Linked DNA regions of Homo sapiens: region 1 is linked to region 2. Evidence: promoter capture Hi-C in 16 types of primary human blood cells and fetal thymus (Javierre and others, 2016). All regions are on one chromosome and are shown on one strand. Each heading gives the region's core, a stretch centred on a gene start or on the middle of the fragment in contact. The rest is flanking DNA. Distances are from core to core; before and after follow the strand shown.

Region 1 (3,750 bases), core at 715-3,214, 520 kb after region 2:
ACAGAGTCAGACTCTGTCTCAAAAAGAAAAAAAAGAAAACAAAAATATAGGCAACAGACAAGCATCCTCAAACATGAAATAACAGAGAATATTGCAAAGACGAGCCCTTCTTGAAAAATCCACCTGACAGTGTAATCCAATCACTCAAATGATGAATCAAAGTGAAAAACTCAGGAACAGAGAAGCTGTGCCAAATAAACTCATCATGAATAATAAAAAATGTTAAGGCTAACATGCCAAGGGACTTATGGTTGCAGATGAGAATATAAACATTATAGATTATGACAAAGTAAAATTTGTGTAAGGAATAAAAGTCAGGAAGAGGATGAGGAGGTGGGAAAAATAATTACTTTGTTCTTCATTACAGGGAGTCAATCTATTCTCTACTGTCCAAAACTCAAACTAAGCAGATTTTGCCTTTACTGCAAGAGATAGTAGATTCTGAAATGATTATTAACCACTTACTGATTTTCATAACCTCCTTTCTTAATTTTAGAGGGTTTTTTTTTTTAAAGGAATTGCAGTATCTTTTGCTGAAGATACATTAATCTGACTGAGGTTTGGCATTCTTCTGTTTCACTTCGCTTTCTTTTTCTGATACTTTTGACTAAAATTAAATATTATCATTTTAATGCCATAAATATGTTGCCATTCTCTTAAAATTCCTTCTTTGTAAGTGTGTACAGGCTGTCTGGTTACTAACCTACCCATCTTTATACAGAGAGGTAGAGGCGTGTCAGCCATCTAATGATAATAGTAGTTATCTATAGATGGAGGGCTGGGGAGGGCAATGTTTGTTTTCTTCCTTACACTCTTTGTATTGCTTGAATTTTAAATAATAAATGTTTATAATTTTCATTTCATAAAATGCAGTCATTACTTTTAGAAATTCAAAGATACACCAGATAAATGCTAATAAAAAGAAAGAAGAAATGGCAATATTATTATTACTTTTCTTTCTTTTTAACCTTTGCTACTTCTTCCAGGAAGGAATAGCAATATTAATGCCAAACAAATGTGAAATTAAGGGAAAAGGCATTACAAGGAATGGAGAGGTATATTCATGTGGATAAAAAGCCCAACCCACCAAAAAAACATAACATTCATGAACATTTATGTACCTAATAACATAGCTTTGACATATATGAAGCAAAAATAGAAAGAACACAATGAAAATCTAATAGATGAACAAGTATACTGGGAGATAAGATTTTAACACATCTCTCAGAAATAAAGGTGATAAAAGTAAATAAGGGTACACATTATTTAAATAACACAATTAACAAGCTTAACTTAATAGATATGTAGAGAACTTTATACGCAACAAACAGAATACACATTTTAAAACACCCATACACTGAACACTCTGAAAATACATGATCATTTATTATTTATTAGACCACAAAAAGATCTCAACAAATTTCCCCCACCCTACCCCCCAAAAAAATCCACACAAAAATAAACACTAGATAGCACACAGACTGCATTCTCTAACCATAATAAGAGACTAACAATAAAAGGTCATACTGAAACAGTTTTCCTGGAAGTCCTGTGATCTTAGGAAAAGAACACAGCTCTTGGTGTCAGGCCACAACTCAAACTCCAGTTCTGCCACTTACCAGAGTTTTGTAACTTTGGAAAGGCCCTTAACCTCCCTATCCTCAAATTCCTCATTGTAAAGTAAGGATAAGCAAGAAATCCTCCCCTAGGGCTGTGGTGAGGATTAAACTCAAAAAAATGTGAGTCCTCTCCTTCAGGAAACATGTTAAGTCTCTGTGAAAGTATGGATGCAAAAGGTCATGGCTGATATCAAATCACAAATGCAGAGAGGTAAACTGAGGCACCAGGAGGACAATTCAGAGAACAGACATCAAATCATGATGCTCTCCACCTTCCAGATTCTTCACCTCTCCTCTGAGGACCCCTCATGCTCCCTAGAAGGAGGCCCTGGAGAGAGAACAAGGCCCTTACCTCGAGAACAAGTCACGCAGGCTGTACAGCGGTCGGCCTCATCCAGGTAGTAGTCAGGCTCACACTGCTTCCTGCAGTCAGTAGGCCTCTGTGGGCACTGCTGTGTCGGGAACAGCCCTGGGAAAAGAAACAGAGAAGCTCCAAGCCAGGCTGACTTAGCAAAGGCCTTATGACCCAATGCCCCACACCTCTCATCCCTGACGCCCCTCCCAGCTCCACCTCCAACCCCCGAAAACTGTCAGTCCAATTCTTGTGTTATGGATGGAAGCACTGACACCCAGGAGGGGCAACCCTCGCCTAAGGTCCCCTAGCAGGCAAGGAAAAGCAACATAGTTATAGAGAAGAGCTGGGCCTGGGATTCTAGGGCTGCCATTTGCCAATTGCGTGATAATGACCTTGTCAGCACTATTTGTGTGTGTGTGTGTGTGAGGGTACATAGTACGTGTATATATTTAGCACTATTAAGTTAGTAATAGGACCCACCTCCTAGTGTTCTTGAAAGGACTGAATGGACTGTGAAGATAAATATGTATAAAGTACTACAGCAGTCCCTGGCACCCAACAAGCACTATATGAGCACCGGTTGTCATCATTCTCTGCAGGGGTCTTATCTCACTGCAGGAATTAGGAGAGCCATAACTTTAGACCATGAAAGTCTAGACCAAGCTTGTCCAACCCACGACTAGCCGCATTCGGCCCAGGACAGCTCTGAATGAGGCCCAACGCAAACTCATAAACTTTCTTAAAACATTATGAGATTTGCGTGTGTGTGATTTTTTTTTTTTTTTTTTTTAGCTCATCAGCTATAAGCTAAAACACTATCCTTAGTGTTAGACTAAATTCACTTCTTCCACACTAACACTTCTTCTTCCAATGTGGCCCAGGGAAGCCGAAAGATTGGACACTCCTGCCACTAAGACCCTAATCCAGCCTGATTTCGAGATAAACAAGTCACCCAGCAATCGCTGCCTACCTTGCTTCCAGGATGAGCACATGACCCAAGCAGGCCAATCAGAATACTTCTTCCCATCAATATAATTGGCTCAGGATTGCCACATGACCCAAGCAGGCCAATCAGAGTACTCCATGTTCCTCACCACTGTGATTAGTTTAGTATGGGCACATGACCCAGGCATGCCAGCCAATAAGCCTCATCTCTGAGAGTTTCACAAAAGCAATCCAGAAAGATGTCCTCCGTTTATCTACTGGATTCCTGGCTGAAAGGGCTAGTTAAGCCCAGAGCTGCCCAGGTCATCACAGCCTGAGCGTGGGCATGGTGTGGGCAGGACTTGCCTAAGAAGGAGGTGACTCAGAAGCCAGCAGAAGCCAGAGTTGGAGAGAAATGGGCTCCTGAGGACATCGTTCAAACATCTGAATGTAGGGTGTCCATGGACTTCTCTGTTAGGGAGCCAATTATTTCTCTTTTGTCTTATTTGAGCCCTTCTGCCAGTTACAATGAAAATAGACCAGGGGGTTCCCAATATTTCTTGTGCCCCTAATCATTCTAAGGAAGCCTGTGGACACTGCACAGAATCATGAATTCATGAATAAAATATGCAGGAATGCAGAGGAATCCAACTACCTTGGAATATGGTTATCAAAGCATTAAACAAAATAACATATAGTAACAGGCCGGGTGCGGTGGCTCACGCCTGTAACCCCAACACTTTGGGAGGCCGAGGTGGGTGAATCACATAAGGTCAGGGGTTCAAGACCAGCCTGGCCAACGTGGTGAAACACCGTCTCTACTAAAAATACAAAAATTAGCTGGGTGTCGTG
Region 2 (3,531 bases), core at 66-2,565:
GCTTTTCACCCAGAAGGAAGATCCTCCCCTGCAGAACCTCTCCCCAGAACTAGGTCTTTGCAGGTGACGAGGTAATCCCAGCCTCCCCTCCCCGCAGATCAGCGTTTTTCGAAGTGACTTTCTCACCAGGCGGAGCATTGAAAGTACCGATCCCAGCGCACCCAGCCCTGCTGAATCAGAATCTCTGGGGGTGAGGCCCAGGAATCGCCGTCTGAACAAGTCGCGGGCTGGAAACGGCTGCCCCAGATTACAGGGCAGCTCCCTGCTTCGCTCTCGCTCCTCCGGCCCCGGGAACGTGCAGGGGGGCGGGAGGCAAGTCCCATCAGCACTTTGAACTGGGGCTGCTTTTTAGTGACTCACCTCCCAGACTTCCTGCAACAGACAACTCTAAATAGCTCGGTCCCACCCTCCAGCAGGGGAGACATTCCGGTCGGGAAGGGCAGGAGGTTAGAAGGTGGGTGCCCCGCCAGGGCAGTCCAGGGAGACCCAAGGACAGGAGACGCTGGCTGCACAGCACAGGGGCGCACGAATAGGACGTTTTGTTTACAGGCTTTTGTTATTAAGGAAATTGGTGTCAGTCAAGGTAATTCTAGCTCAGATGAGCAATAAATATGCTCCCAGCTAATCTTGTGGGGATTTTATTGGCACTCGGAGCAGAGGTTCCTTTACCTTGACTACTCCCTCCCCTCAAAGCAAAGTCCTGCTCCCCAGCGGCTTCCCCCTAAGCATCGTGAGGCACTTGGGTCAGGCTTTTAAAAGTCCACTCTACGTGAACACAGAAGAGGTCCGGGCAAAGGTGAGGAGTGGCTTCCTGATCCTACCTGGAGGCCGAGGATGACCAAATGACCTGAAATAAAACCCTGGGTGACCTGGTTGGATCAAGGCATACGCAAGCTCCCCCGGGCCTGCTCCACACTCGGGGTGATCACCTGGCCCGCGGGCGGCCCGGGCAAGGAGGAACGTCTCGAGAAGGCAGCCGGCTCGCCGGAGTCGGTTCCAGCGTGTTCGAGTTACAGCTGCGAGCCCTCAGGGACACCGGCGGCAAGTCCCGGCTTGCAGAGAGGGGAGCCAGTCCCGGGAGAGCGCGAGTCCCGGCGAGCCCGAGTGCGCGCCTTATGCGCGCTCCCCGCGACGGCGCAGGGGGAGGGGAGGCCGCAGCAGCCACTCAGAGGAACGGTAGTGAAGCCTCCCAACAACTTTAACTGTCAATCAGACTTAATGGGGTATTGAAAAAATGGGGGAAAAAGGGGCCGCCCTCTCCGCGACGCGGCTGCCCGGGGAGCGAATGAATAGGGCCGCGCAGACCAAGGCGTCCGATCCACGCGCGCTCCACACCCGGACCCTCTCCAAGTTGGAAAGGACAAAAAGAAGGCAATAAATGCTAAAAAGGGAGAGAAGGGGAGCTGGATCGAGCGGCAACTCCCAGCCTCTGCTGGAACAGAGAGGGAGGGAGGGAGCCGGAGCGAGCGAGCGCGCGCGAGGGCGAGCGCTGCACGTAAAGAAACTGACACCCGGACCCCCCACTTCTCCTGCACGTTGCTGGCAATCAGATCGCGTTTAAGCAATTTCCTGAGCCCAAGAATAGCAATGAGTCGGGAGACTTTCGCGGGCTGAAATTGGGAGCTCCAAGCACTTTTTCCCCCCACTTTTTTTTTTTTTTTTTTTCTGGAGACGGGGTGGGGGTGGGGGCGCTACAATTTGGAATCAGCTTTTTTTTTTTTTTTTTTTTTTTTTTTAATCTTGCACTTTGAAACCGCGGGACCGAGGCAGGGTGCGCGCGTGTGGTTGGTGCCTTTTTTTTTTTTTCTTCCCCTCCCTAAACTCCTCTGTCAGTCTGTAAACATTACCTGAGAATTCCCCAGCCGAAACGGCTGCTGGGGCAAGAAACTTCTTGTTAGAACTTTCCACCTCCGGCTTCCCCCTCCACCTCTTTTACCGTCCCAACCTTAGGAGACGCTTTTTCTCCCCCAGAGGAGAATTTATCTTTTTTTTTTTTTTTTTTTTCTTTTTCTCACCCGGTGCTTTGCATTTGGGAAGAGGTGATTTCAAGAGTGGCCAGGTGGGACGCCTCTCTCCTCCTTATTCGGTTTACTATTTATTGTTCGGGGTGTTTTTTAATTCCTGTATTGCTCGGCCCGGGGAGTTTCGCCCCCTGCCCGGCTCCGCGGCGCGGAGGATGGTGTGGAAACGGCTGGGCGCGCTGGTGATGTTCCCTCTACAGATGATCTATCTGGTGGTGAAAGCAGCCGTCGGACTGGTGCTGCCCGCCAAGCTGCGGGACCTGTCGCGGGAGAACGTCCTCATCACCGGCGGCGGGAGAGGCATCGGGCGTCAGCTCGCCCGCGAGTTCGCGGAGCGCGGCGCCAGAAAGGTACCAGGCACTGCGACTCCAGGGAGTGGGGGGCCGCAGGGGCGGGGGTAAGCCCACCTGCTGCCGCTGCGGGATCCCGCGCCCGGGAGCTGAGAGTCGCCGGCCACCCCACTTCTCCGCGCCACCCACGAGTGCTGAGCTAGTCGGTTTCACCTTGTAAATTTCCCGGGCACCGGACTGTCTTTTTTGGCAGGTTCAGAGTTGATCCGCTCCTTTGGGATCGGTGGCTGGCTGACTGGCTATTCACCCCCACCCTGAAACCTAAGAGACCCACCATTTCCCACATTCCTGCCTCCCAAAGGAAGGTGTTGTGCCCCCCTCCCCCGCCTTCCCCCCTTTTTCTTGCCGCCACCCTGGTGAGTGCAGGGTGTGCGCACTCCTGGGTAGAGCTGGGAGCCGCCTGCTAGCTGGCGCCTCGTATTTTCCTTGGCAACCCGCTACCCAGCCCCAACCTGGGCGGCTGCAGCTCTGAAGACACGAGAGAGGGTACTTGGTTTGGGTTTGAAAAGGGAAGAGCGGTCTTGTATGCAGTAGTCTGGCCGGACCGACACTGAGAGGCCCAGGTGTTTGGAAAGCAGGAAAGAGGAGGCCAGGGTAAGCAGCTACTGATAAAGAGCCCTTGTTCTCACCTTCAACCCTGTCCCCTCCCCCCCAGTACACCCCCCAGGGATCCCTCCCCATTTAGCTGGAAGGTGGTGCTGCAAGGAGGGTCCTGCCCACCAAACACGGCCTTTAACTTTTTGGTGGTCCTGGCACCCCTTGCTCCAGGTTTTGGAGACCTGGTGCCAGAGTGGGGAGAGTGGGCAGGCTGTCACCCAACTCCCAGCCCAGGCCAGGCTGACTCACGCGGTGACCAGAGCCATCAGGAGAGGGAGGCAGGCCAGGCTGTCTCCAGCCAGCCCTGTGAAGAGGAAGAGCGAAAACAGGGAATTAGTTTGAAACTTAAACTGTTGTGAACTAGGGGGGTGAAAGGGCCGCAAAGCCAGCTGATCTGACATGGAGCCGCATACCTTGGGGATTAAGTAAATATGTACTGTAGAAAACCAAACCTGCATGTAATTCCAGGTTGCTTTTGTTTTGTTAAATACTGCCCTGAGATTTACAATTCCTCCGGGGTGGCTCTGACTGGGACTGAACTTTGGAGCCTGAACTATCAGCCA

The links. The method cuts DNA at HindIII sites, captures the fragments that hold promoters and counts their contacts. A CHiCAGO score of 5 or more calls a contact.
Region 1: a fragment that was not itself captured here is called in contact with the fragment with the promoter of DHRS3 in region 2 in 1 of 17 cell types (neutrophils); the score reaches 5.2 in neutrophils.

What each region holds. Positions count from the first base shown.
Region 1 is chr1:12,095,439-12,099,188 of GRCh38, reverse strand. It overlaps TNFRSF8 (TNF receptor superfamily member 8), which reads right to left. Exons shown (of 15, transcript NM_001243.5): 3 at 1,972-2,088. Among named protein-coding and RNA genes, the nearest start is that of TNFRSF8, 34 kb to the right of the region's middle. The HindIII fragment of the contact is 1,350 bases long and covers 1,290-2,639 here.
Region 2 is chr1:12,615,994-12,619,524 of GRCh38, reverse strand. DHRS3 (dehydrogenase/reductase 3) reads left to right here and starts at 1,315. Exons shown (of 6, transcript NM_004753.7): 1 at 1,315-2,371. The coding sequence starts at 2,177. RefSeq lists enhancers at 1-426, 427-1,058, 1,059-1,690. The HindIII fragment of the contact is 18,116 bases long and covers 1-3,531 here.